2 separate regions of the Homo sapiens genome follow, and region 1 is linked to region 2. The links are contacts of gene promoters, found by promoter capture Hi-C in blood cells and fetal thymus (Javierre and others, 2016). All regions are on one chromosome and are shown on one strand. Each heading gives the region's core, a stretch centred on a gene start or on the middle of the fragment in contact. The rest is flanking DNA. Distances are from core to core; before and after follow the strand shown. Region 1 holds the start of ACTR10 (actin related protein 10). Region 2 holds the start of L3HYPDH (trans-L-3-hydroxyproline dehydratase).

Region 1 (6,030 bases), core at 2,926-5,425, 1.3 Mb before region 2:
TTGAGGTGAAAAATACACTGGATGGGATTAATAGCAGATTAAATGCTGCAAAAGAGAAGATCAATAGACATGAAGACAAAACAGTAGAAACTATACAAAAAGAAACACAGAGGAAAAAATATAAGTGAGAAAAAGAAAAAAGAACAAAGAGTCAGTGAGCTACGAGAAAGCTTTAAACCACCTAATAACATATGTACTTGGACTACCCAAAGGAGAAGAGTCAGTATAGAAAAATTACTTGAAGAAACAAAGGTCAAAATATTCCAAATTTGATGAAAACTATAAAACCACAGGTCCAAGTTCACTTAATCCCAAACAAAAGAAACATGAAGAATATAATGTCAAGGCACCTGAAAAGACATTCCCACCAGTGCCACAACAGTTACAAATGCCATGGCAACATCAGGAAGTTACCCTATGTAGTCTAAAAGGGGGAGAAACCCTCAGTTCCAGGAATTGCTCAACCCTTTCCCAGAAAATCCATGAATAATCCACCCCTTGTTTAGCATATAATCAAGAAGTAATGATAAGTATAAGCAGTTAAGCAGCTCACGCTGCTGCTCTGCCTATGAGTAGCCATTCTTTTATTCCTTTACTTTCTTAATAAACTTGTTTTCATTTTACTCTATGGACTTGCCCCGAACTATTTCTTGTGCGAGGTCTAAGAACACTTTTGGGGTCTGGATTGAGACCCCTTTCTAGTAACAATAACACTTAACTCATAAAGTTGCTGTGAGGAATAAATGGGATCATATATAGCAAGGAGAGCTAGCAAATAGAACTCAACAAATATTATCTCTAGCTGTATCTATGGGAGTGGAAGAGATTGGCAAAGGAGAGGGTGTACAATAAGAAAAGAGGTTCAAGAGCAGAACCATGGAGAACAACAACATTTAGGTTGTGTACTGGGTTGAATAGTGTCCTCCCCAAAATTCGTGTGAACAGAAATCTTAGAATGTGACTATATTTGGAATTAGATCCTTTGCAAATGTAATCAAGTTAAGATGAAGTCATACTGGGTTAAGATGGACCCTGAGCCAGTAACTGATATCCTCAGAAGAAGAGGGAGGCCGGGCACAGAGGCTCATGCCTGTAATCCCAGCACTTTGGGAGGCCGAGGCGGGCGGGTCACTTGAAGTCAGGAGTCGAGACCAGCCTGGCCAACATGGCAAAATCCCATCTCTACTAAAAATACAAAAAATTAGCCAGGCATGGTGGCAGGTGCCTGTAATCCCAGCTACTTGGGAGGCTGAGGCAGGAGAATTGCTTGAACCTAGGTGGCAGAGGTTGCAGTGAGCTGAGATCGCGCCACTGCACTCCAGCCTGGGCGACAAGAGTGAAACTCCGTCTCAAAAAAAATAAAAATAAAAATAAACAAGAAGAGGGAAATTTGTTCAGCCGAATACAGAAAAAATAAAAAAGAAAACAATTAAGAAAAAAGGAGGGAAATCTGGACACAGAGACACACACAGAAGGAAAGTGATGTGAAGACACAGGGAGGAGTACATAATGTGAAAAATGCAGACACAGCGAAGAAGGCCAAGTGATGACAGAGGCAGAGATTGGAGTTATGTATCTACAAGCAAAGGCACATCAAAGATTGCCAGCAACCACCAGAAGCTAGGAAAAGGCAAGAAAGAAGGCCAGGCACGGTGGCTCATGCCTGTTATCTCAGCACTTTGGGAGGCTTAGGAAGGCGGATCACCGGAGCTCAGTAGTTTAAGACCAGCCTGGGCAACACGGTGAAACCCATCTCTACAAAAGATGTTAAAATTAGCCACGCAAGGTGGCACATGCCTGCAGTCCCAGCTACTTGGGAAGGTGAGGCAGGAGAATTGCTTGAGCCCAGTCTGGGGTTCAGTGAGCCAAGGTTGCACCACTGCACTCCAGCCTGGATGACAGAACGAGACTCTGTTAAAAAAAAAAAAAAAAAAAAAAAAAGCTGGGCGCGGTGTAATCCCAGCACTTCGAGAGGCCAAGGCAGGCAGATCACCTGAGGTTAGGAGTTCGAGACCAGCCTGGCCAACATGGTGAAACCCTATCTTTACTAAAAATCCAAAACAAACAAAAAAAAATAGTTGGGCGTGGTGGCAGGTGCCTGTAATCCCGGCTGCTCCAGAGGCTGAGGCAGAAGAATCACTTGAACCTGGTGGGGCGGAGGCTGCAGTGAGCTGAGATCGAACCTGGGTGACAGAGCGAGACTCCATCTCAAAAAAAGAAAAAAAAAAAAAGACAAGAAAGGATCCTCCTCAAGAGCCTTCAAAGAGGGCATGACCTTGCTCTTGCTGACACCTTGATTTCTGACTTCTCACCTCCAGAAGTGTGAAAGAATAAATTTTTTGTTTCCTTGAACCACCGTTTGTGGTACTTTGTTACGGCAGTCCCTAGCTAACAAATACAGCTGGTGAGCTGTCATGGAAAACATAGAATAGGTAATAACAAACTTCATCATTTCAATAGTTTCAGAAACATAATTTCAAATTGATCCTTACAAATACCTTGTGAAGCAGCAGAACAGTTTACAGATAAGGAAGTGGACGATCAGAGGTATTAGGGACTTGACAGAAAGTGGCAGAAACAGAATCTGAACTCAAGTAAGGGGTCCTATTCAAATAATCTGACTCTATTAAGCAAAAAATTTAATCTCTTCCCACGTTTCTTAAAGTTTTCTTCCCCGTCACAACTCCAACTTCATTCTCCTGTCTCCAGGAATTTGCTTTCAAGGAGGATCATTGATCAGTAATTTGGACTTAAACATGAATTTTACTAATATCACATTCCAAATTTCTGCATTGTTACAGCCTTAGTTTTTGTTATGGAAATAGCTTATCCCCAACTACCCCGCTAACTCTAGTTACCAACCATTAGAGTAGGGCCTTTTTTTTTTTTTTTTTTTTTTTTGAGAGACAGGCTCTCACTCTTGTTGTTGCCCAGGCTGGAGTGCAGCGGCACAATCCCGACTCACTGCCGCTTTAGACTTCTTGGGCTCAAGGGATCCTCCCGCTTCGGCCTCCCAAAGTGCTGGGATTACAGGTGTGATCCTGCGCTCGGACAGTTGGGACATCTTAATACAGTATAACCTCATCTTAACTTGATTACATCTGCCAAGACTCTATTTCCAAATAGGGTCACATTCTGAGGTTCCCAGTGGACAAGAATTTTGGGGGGGGGGGCATCATTCAACCCAGTACACCAGCTAAATGTTGCTAGTCCTCACCGATTTACCCTTGAACCTCTTTTCTTATTGCACAGCCTCTCCTTTGACAGTCTTTTCCACTCCTATGCATAGATACAGTTAGAGCTAATATTTGCAGGAAAAAAATATTTTCACAGAAAGCTGTGAAGTGACAAAGATGTAAACAGTAATGTAAATGTTAAAAGTAGTGGCAAAAACAGCAATTACTTTTGCACCAACCTAATAGGGGCCTTTGCTTCAATGTTTCTTCTATTAAACCATCCCGACCGCTCCTCTATGGACAGATTCAAGATTCACAGACGCTACTCTAGCTGCTTAATTCTGGAGTAAAATAAAAACTTTCAGAAAGACTACTAACTAAAGTATTGTCTGTACGTATTATTCTCTAAAGCATCATTAGCATAGGCTTTGCAATTAGGAAGTCTGTGGGTTTGTTCCTGGCTCTGCCGTGGGACATTGGGAAAGTTAATCTCTCTGAGCGTCGGTCCCCACAGATAAGAAAACACATATTCTTGTTATTTCTTGAGAAGATTAAATATTAGGCAAAACGCCTAGCACAGAATAGGGTCTCAGCATCTTCTGCCCCCCAAGAGCATGAATCAAAGGTTCGGAATTGCGTCGTCTCTCGGCTGCCCCTTGGCAGCCAGGTCCTCAGTGACCTCTTCACAGTGAGCTGAGACCGAACCTCTTCACAGCCGCGCGTGGGTGCGGCTTTGGGGCGTGGTGGGAGGGAAGGATAGGGAGGCCGGCTCCGCCCCCTCAGGGCGACCGGCGCGCCTGATCGCCGCGGCCTCCGCGCCCCCGCACTCGGATTCGCGCCCGCCAGCGCCTCTTTTCCCCTAGTCCTGGCGACGGCAGCACCTGCAAGGGTGGGTCCAACGCGGAATGAGGCACAGCCTGGGACAGCCCGGGCCCGGCGCGCCGCGGCCGCGCGAGGCCCCCGCCGTCGCCGACGCCCGAGCGCCGGAGCCCCGGCCCCGCCCCGCGAGCGCCGAGACTTGTTGGCCGCGGAGACTGCGACCCTCTTCTCTCAGTCTGCCTTACTACCATGCCGCTCTACGAGGGCCTGGGGAGCGGCGGGGAGAAGACGGCGGTCGTGATCGACCTGGGAGAGGCCTTTACCAAGTGAGTGGCCGTGACGCCAGCTGTGTTCGACCCGAGGGGAGGGCGGGTGGCAGAGCCCCAGGCACTGCCTGGGTCCTCATCGCCGACTCGCTGGGCAGCTCCGGGCCTCCCCTTTTCTTCAACCAGCGCCCTTGCAAATAACAGCTCTTATTATTTCCTCCCTGGGCGATGCGAATCCGAGGATCGGGGTCTGACTCCCAGAGAGGCCCAGAAAGCTTCTGTTGAATTGCCCTCGTCGCCGCCCCTTGTCATCACCCCAAACCCAACAAACCCTTTGGGATCATCTGTGTAGGGGATGACAACCGTGACCTAGACCCCGCTTACCCTGGGCTCCTCAGTTGAGGAAGGCAGCCAACCGAATGTAAATGCTCGATGACGAATTTCATCATAAAATATTGAACGGAGTTTATTTTGGTGCTGAAAATGGAAAGATGTTTAAGACAGGGCTATCGCTGCTCAAGAATTAGGGAGACTGGGCACATTAAGAGGTGAAACCCTATAGATAAGATTCTGGAAATCCTTTGTTGGCTCCCCTAAACTCGAAGGTTAGATTTGACATGTTTTAAACAAACCAACTTGTAAACAATAGAGAGGAGGTTCTCAACCTTTCGGATGGCATAGATCTCTTTAATGGCTGGATGAAAACCACAAATGCACAAATCTTAAGGTACTTATACACAGTTTCAGGGAATTGGCAGACAATCAATGTGGTCCTGGGACCCTAGATTAAGAGTCCTTGTGATGGGCTCAACAGAGAGGGAAGTAACAGGCAATTACATCATATATGTATTTATGAAAATGAAACATTTGAAAAATCTTTTTATATCTCTAGGCACTTCCTGACGTGTAGTAGGTATTTAATAACTATTTATTGACTAAGTGGTTAAAAGAGCCTATTTAAAAATTGGACCCCAGGAACTCCAGAATTGGATTAAACATAGTCCTTGGTTAATGACATTCTCTTATTGTTCTATGCGAGGCCCTTCCTTATTTATATTTTCTTATTAAAATTATTTTGAAAGCGTAATAAACAGTTCGAGGCTTCTAGTCAAAGATAATTATTTTGGCTGTACTTGGAAGAAATAAGCAAAAAGCTATATTTGAAAAAGACAGCAGGAGGATGATAAGATAAATGTATGAAGTAAAAAAAAGGAATTGAAGTCTAATGGCTTGCATTCTGAGATGTTTGAGGAGCACTGATGCAAGTAAACATGGAGACGGGAATAGGAGGAGATGGAGAGAATTATTTGGGAATACGAGGAGAGCAGTATCAAAAACTAGACAGGACAAGAAGACAGGATGTTAAGACTAAACTAGTATGATGATCATTTTTAGCAACGTTTTTAGCAAATTTTTGTTTTACTAACATGAAACAAAAATGGAAATACCTAAATACTCAAGAAAAGAGCATCGTTTTTAAAATAATGAAATATGTGGTTTTAAAAATAATACTGTAATTCCAGCAGTTTGGAAAGCTGAGGCGGGCTGACCACTTGAGCCCAGTAGTTCAAGACCAGCCTGGGCAACATGGGGAAACCCAGCTCTACACAAAATACAAAATTTAGCCGGCGGTAGTGTCGTGCCCGAAATCCTAGCACTTTGGGAGGCCAAGGGGGGAGGATCGCTTGAGCCTGGGAAGCGGAGGCTGCAGTGATCTGAGTTTGTGCCACTGCACTCCAGCCTGGGCGACAGAGCGAGACCCTGCCTCA
Region 2 (6,596 bases), core at 2,105-4,604:
CCCTGAGCCTACAATCATTTCCCTGGCCCAACCTTTCTAGAATCTTGGGTCTGGTTTTCTTAGGGTGGGCAGTTGGGTAGGGTGCTACACCTCACTGAGTTTCAGTTTCCTTTTCTTTAAAATGGACCAAATTTCCTTTAAAGTTACTCTTGTCCACCAATTATCTGTGACTATTTCATTTTTTAATCACTAAATTACTAACATTAAAAATTAAGATATTTATTTCACCCATGAGTACTTCCTATGTGGCAGGTCTTTACATACACTAGCCCCTTAATTCATTACATTAGTGCCTTAATTACTACAGCCCTGAGAGGTAGGTACTGTTTTACTTACTATCTTTACATTATTCCCTGGTTTACCCACTAAATAAGTGGCAGAGCTTGGGGTCAAACCCAGGACCAGGTGACTCCAAAGCCCAAACCCTTTCTACTAAAATATACAACCTCTATCCAGAACACAATCCAAAATCTAAGGGTTTTTCTTTTCTTCTATACAAGCATATCACTGAAATTTCAATTTGATTTACTTTGCTCAAGATTTAGTGAGCACCTACTATGTGCCGATTACTGTAGAAGATACGAGAAGTACAAGGAATAAAACATAGGCTTTTCCCCTTCTTGGAGTTTAGTTGGACAAGACAGATTTTAAAATGCTTTAAAATACACTAAGCACTATTCTAGAAAATTGAAACATATCTCCTTAAACTACAAAAAATTTTAAGGATGAGAGGGAAGCAATATGATAGGCCAGGGTTCCAACCCTAGTTCTGCCATTAGTGTGGCTTTGGTGTCTTGTGCAAACTGTAACTGCTATTTCTCCTAAAAGAGTTGTTTTGAAAATTCCACGTATGGGGAGTTCCTGGCACAGATTAGGGACTCGAAAGCCAAAACTTTAATTTCCAGTGGCAATAGGTTTCTCAAGAGGACCAGATGTTTACATTTGTCAATCAGCATATTCTTCTCCAAATTTCATTTATTTAGTTACTCATTCAACAAACATTCATTGACTGACTACTCTTCTAGGCACTTAGAATACTGTGAACAAGAAAGAGTTTGCATTTTAGCCTGGTGGGGTGGAGATGAACTCAGCAACCCTCTGAGGTGGGTACTGTTGTCATCCTCATTTTGCAGACTGTGATACTGAGGCATGGACTCTCTAGCACAAGGTCACTGAGATGGGGAGAGGTGGGGCAGTGACCTTGAACACTATGTCTGCCTTGTATGCATTTTTCAAAGTAGAGAATATAGCATTTCATTTTCTTAACTCAGTGACCATTAATGCCCACTAATCATTGTACTGTCATACAGTGATGCTCTCAGGAACTACTGAGAGGAACTACTGAGGTCAAGTGGTTGACTGACCCTGCCCTAACTGACCCAGAAATGAGATGTAGTTTGTGTTCCTGCTGCCAGCTGCCATTTCCTACAGAAGTCTAGAGTGTTTCTACTCTGCTGCTGGAGTTGCCTAGGGGGAATTCTGGTAGCCACGCTAGTTAAACTGTTGAGGTTTTAAAAATGGAATCGTAAACATAAATTCTGTCTCCCTCAAGTGGCCTCCCAGTCTGGAAGTGACACCATTCTCTGGGAAAATGGCATCAATTTCTCCAGAGGCATTCTTCGTTAACTCGTGGATTTCAGCTGCCTAAGGTTGCTCTAAAAGTGCCTGTTCTATCAGTTATCATTCATAATCAGGCTAATCTGAAACCTAGTTCTTCAGGGGGAATCAAGGTCCAACTTTCTAACAGATGATTTGCATGGCTTGAAGATTTTTAAGAAAAGGATAACTCTATTCCTGGTAAACTGGCTCCTGGCTCACTTCCAGTCACAATGACTAAAGCATTCTTACTGATAGAATTCAGCTCCTGGGAGGTAGTAGTCTGATGAGAAACCAGATGCCAGCTTGCCAGGTCATCCCTCCTGTAAGGGTTATGGTTATAGAGATGCCCTGCTTTACATGATAAGCTGTACAAGGATCTGTACTAGAGAATCCAGCAAAACCTTTTAATGGCTCAATAGGCCTAGGGAACTTTAGCGATCATATAAACCTTGCAATCTATCTCCAGGAATACAGTATCTTGCATACTCTCATTTAATCCTAACAAAAAAACTCTATGAGGGAAAAGAAGAAACACAGGCACAGAGAGATTAAGTAATTTGCCTAAGGTTGCACAGCTTTAGGGGGTTATCAGGATTTGAAACCAGGCAATGTGTGTTCCTGTTCTTAAAGAAAAGCAACATTCGTATCTTAATGATTTATAAACTGCTTTGTTCATTCATTCTCATTTAATTCTTCAAAGAAGTGGGGGAGGTGAGGAAAGGAGACCAGGTTTAGTAACTTATTAAGTGTGATTCTGTGTCTACCAAGCATATTCTCAGCCAGCCTGGAACCCTGGTACATTGGCTGTTCTTCGCTCTTTCCTTGACCCCACCGTACCTTGCTTTATCCACCGGTGAAATCTCTAGGAATGCCTCACCAGTGCAGAGGGAGGCGCTGAGTCAGGGTAACACGCAATTCCTCGCTCCTCAAGGGTCTCCCAAAACCACAGGCGGATGGGAGTCAGGGAAAATCGAAATTACACGCACCAAATACGCAAGGCTGCTGACACACGTTGGCAGTGATTTACCTTTCTATTAATTGCAAGGTTTCGCGGAGTAGGTTAGTTGCCAGAGTTCCAGCCCAGAAAAACCGTTAATGTAGTTAGTCGCGTCCCGGTTGCAGCTCTGCCCTGGGCTGGAAAGGTCCCGCCCATTACCTGTGGCCAGCACGAAGGCCGGGACGCTGTGGAAGCGCACCGGTCCGTGGCTGCGGCCGTCCTCGCATGCCACGAAGGCGGTCACCAGCCCGCAGGGGCAGTGGATATTGACGCGGGCCTCGCGGGTGCCCGCAGGGGGCGCCGGCACAAGCCCGAAGTCCAAAGCGAAGCGGCCCAGCGCCAGCACTGCGTGGCCGCACATGGAGCTGTAGCCCTCGTTGTGCAGGAACAGGACGCCCAGATGCGCGTCCGGCAGCTCGCTCGGGACTAGGACCGCCCCGTACATGTCCCGGTGCCCTCGGGGCTCGAACATGAGCCGTCGCCGCACGTGGTCAAGGTGCTGGCGCATGTAGCGCCGCTTGGCCAGCAGGGTGGGCCCAGACACCTCCGGACACCCCGCCAGCACGATACGCAAGGGCTCGCCGCCCGTGTGCATGTCCACCACCGACAGCACCGGCGTCCCTGGATCATGCGGGGGCAGCCGGGGCACCGCCAGCGCGCTCTCCATGGTCTGCGTCGGGGGAGACGAGTACGGTCCCGCAGCTATGGCTTCAAGCCCGACCCTCACCCACTGACTCCGCGGGAGGAGGGCGGGACGCTAACCAGCCACGTCCGGGGGGCGGGGTCTCGGAGCCTAAACCCGGAAGCGAGGGAGGAACTTCGGAGCTGTCGCCCGGGTTACCGGGAGGCGGAGCCGCCGAGCTCGCTGTGGCCCGGATGTTCGGTGCAGCTGCCAGATCCGCTGATCTAGTGCTTCTCGAAAAAAACCTTCAGGCGGCCCATGGGTGAGTGGTCGCCAAGATCCCGGGAAGCGTTTCTGGTAGTCCCGACTACTTTCCTACACGGCTGGCCTCGGGCTCGGCTCTTTGTAGGCGGCCTTCGGTTGGCGGCGCAGGCTCGCCCCTTGACCCCGCCCGCCCTCGGGCCGGGCTCCGCACTCCTGCGGGGTTGGGGTGGTCTGTCCGCAACGGGCTACTAGGGGAGGCGCGCTGTCTGCGGCGAAATGCCAGGTCTTTGTTGTTTGGTCCGAAATGTCTCTTCAGTCCCTTAGTTTAATGTCGAGGGAACACTTGCTTGAGGGTTGACTTCGGAATTGAAAACGCGGGTGATAGTGCAGAAAAAACAGTAAAGCAGAAGCAAGTTGCTGCATAATTTGTCTACTGCTTCAACCTCAAACGTAGATTTATAGCGCCCGTCACAAAGGGCAGGACCGCTGCAAAAAAATGGAATCTTAAAACTTTAGCCATCGTTCGCTAAAGGAAATGAAAGGAGAAATTCAACAGTCGCTTGGAGCCTGGGTTTTGCTTAGTAAGTGATAGGCTGTTTATTTCAGTTCAGTTTATCATACTGGTTTTCAGGCCTTGGATTTTGAGAAACTTTAGATTATTGATATTCACGTGTATTTATTAAGCATCTACTAGATGTAAAGCCCATACAGAAGTTTCCAATTCCTTACCTTCTGCATTCTTGAAAAACCTGAAATATTCATTTTCATGTATTAATTTAGAACATTGTGATTACAATTGGTTACAAAAAAAATAAGCGCCCATTAAAGAGGCCAGTGGGTTTAAAAAGCTAAGTCCGAAATTTGTTAAAAGCGAAAATATTAAACTGGAGGAATATTATTCAATGCTGTTTCTCTTTTTCTCTCAGCAGCATAAGGAGAAGGAAGTAAAAAGTCTGCTTGAATGTGAAAGGAGAGAAGGCACTGTAGACCAGGCAGTCTAGATTGTGAATTCGTGAATAATTTGGGAAATGATTGTTCAAGAATAGTCAAAAGATGCATAATTTTTCAAATTAATTCACATGTAGACCGCAGTTTGTTTTGAGACGGAGTCTCCTTCTGTAGCCCAGGCTGGAGTGCAGTGGCGCGATCTCGGCTCACTGCAACCTCTGCCTCCTGGGTTCAAGCGATTCTCCTGCCTCAGCCTCCCCAGTAGCTGGGACTACAGGCGCGCGCCACCACGTCAGGCTAATTTTTGTATTTTTAGTAGAGACGGGGTTTCACCATTTTGGCCAGGCTGGTCTGGAACTCCTGACCTCATGATCTGCCCACCTCGACCTCCCAAAGTGCTGGGATTACAGGCGTGAGCCACCTCACCGAGCCTGTTTGTTTGTTTTAATCAATGAATGAATGAAGGGAATCAGATGTCACTGATGAAGAAAACTTCCATAATTTCTTGTGAATAAGGTCAAAGACAACGTATTAGGTTCTTAGTTGTTGGGGTTTTTTTAAGTAAGGAATAGCTGCTTTTCCCCTAAGCCTTTAGATCAGGGGCTTAATTTTAATGCAGTGGTTTCTAAAATATTGGCCCAGTGACAGCCTTGATGAAATTTTCACTTATCCTCCACAAAAATGATAAAAGCTAGGACAATGTAGGAAACTTTTTATAAAGGTAATTTGCATACCTCTGTTATGAAATTATGTTCTCTCTGCTTTTCCCATGTGAAAATGTGTTCTGTTATGAACATAGGTGATAATGATAATTGTGTGTCTACATGTGGGTGCTTAATGTCCTGACTGGGCAAAATACAAGGTGGTGACCCTCTACTGGTGCTCTAATTTAAAAATATATGTATATTTGAACTTTATAATCAGTTAAACTCAGAAGTATCCTCTAATCATACCGGGTTAGGCTTTGAGTCCTGGAGATAGATCCTGCTCTGCTGGTTGAGGACCTTAATCATAAGGCACGGTATTAACAGCAAGGTTCCAGGATAACTGTCTGCAGTGTCACAGTGTAAAAGGAGAAATGTAAATTTAAAAATGCTTCAAGACTTTTGTCTAATACATATTATTCAAAAATTTGAAACTGTTATTTTTGCCAAATGCTTCAGCTATTATTGCAATTATTTTTTATAATCACAAAAGATGTTACTATACTGGCATTTGTTTTTAAAAAGCTGTCGATATTCAACCAGCATGCCTTGGACTTTATTGTGGGAAGACCCTATTATTTAAAAATGGCTCAACTGAAATATATGGAGAATGTGGGGTAAGTCTTATGTTTGTATCTTATTTCATTTTGTAAAATCTATTTGCTTTTGAAATATTTTCACATACAACATTTTTTGTTATTATACTCATTAATTTATAAAAGAATATGGAGGACCAGGCGCAGTGGCTCATGCCTGTAATCCCAGCACTTTGGGAAGCCTAGGTGGGTAGATCACTTGAGGTCAGGAGTTCGAGACCAGCCTGACCAATATGGTGAAACCCCATCTCTGCTAAAAATAGAAAAAAATTAGCTGGGCATAGTTGTGTGCGCCTGTAGTCCCAGCTACTCGGGAGGCTGAGACAGGAGAATTGCTTGAACCTAGGAGGTGGAGGTTGCAGTGAGCCAAGATTGCACCACTGCATTCCAGCGTGGGCAACAGAGGGAGACTCTGTCTCAAAAAAAAAATAAAATAAGGAAATATAAAAGAATATGGAGGCATTAATATAGTCATTGTTCATGTTGGCATTTTGATGTCTATATTATTTTTTAAAACATTTAATAATTTTATAATAATTTCTAATTTATGATTTGGTACCGTGTCTTGTACAGTAAGTTGAACATCATGAATCCAGAACATTTATCTGCAGTTATTCTTATATAATGTTAATAACTAGGTTTTTCATTGAATGTTAGTCAACTATTTTAGTAACTTAGTAAAAGGAATCTTCTAAGAGCATTGTACAAATATAGCACATACAATATAGATTTCTTTTTATTTTACTTATGCCCTCTTTTTTATTTCTAAAAGCTGCACATGTAAACTTAAATATTTAAACTGAAATGGGATGTCTTATAGAATGATTTGGGGGGGTGTTAATGTTGTAAAATAATATCTGTACACA

The links. The method cuts DNA at HindIII sites, captures the fragments that hold promoters and counts their contacts. A CHiCAGO score of 5 or more calls a contact.
Region 1: a contact is called between the fragment with the promoter of ACTR10 here and the fragment with the promoter of L3HYPDH in region 2, in 5 of 17 cell types (naive CD4 T cells, total CD4 T cells, non-activated CD4 T cells and 2 more). The highest score is 7.5, in naive CD4 T cells.

What each region holds. Positions count from the first base shown.
Region 1 is chr14:58,195,974-58,202,003 of GRCh38, forward strand. It overlaps ACTR10 (actin related protein 10), which reads left to right and starts at 4,176. Exons shown (of 13, transcript NM_018477.3): 1 at 4,176-4,321. The coding sequence starts at 4,245. RefSeq lists enhancers at 3,619-3,748, 4,369-4,558 and a silencer at 3,819-4,208. The HindIII fragment of the contact is 4,366 bases long and covers 169-4,534 here.
Region 2 is chr14:59,481,054-59,487,649 of GRCh38, forward strand. It overlaps L3HYPDH (trans-L-3-hydroxyproline dehydratase), which reads right to left and starts at 3,355. Exons shown (of 5, transcript NM_144581.2): 1 at 2,756-3,355. The coding sequence starts at 3,263. JKAMP (JNK1/MAPK8 associated membrane protein) reads left to right here and starts at 3,464. Exons shown (of 7, transcript NM_016475.5): 1 at 3,464-3,540; 2 at 5,660-5,751. The coding sequence starts at 3,537. RefSeq lists an enhancer at 3,430-3,709. The HindIII fragment of the contact is 9,651 bases long and covers 1-6,596 here.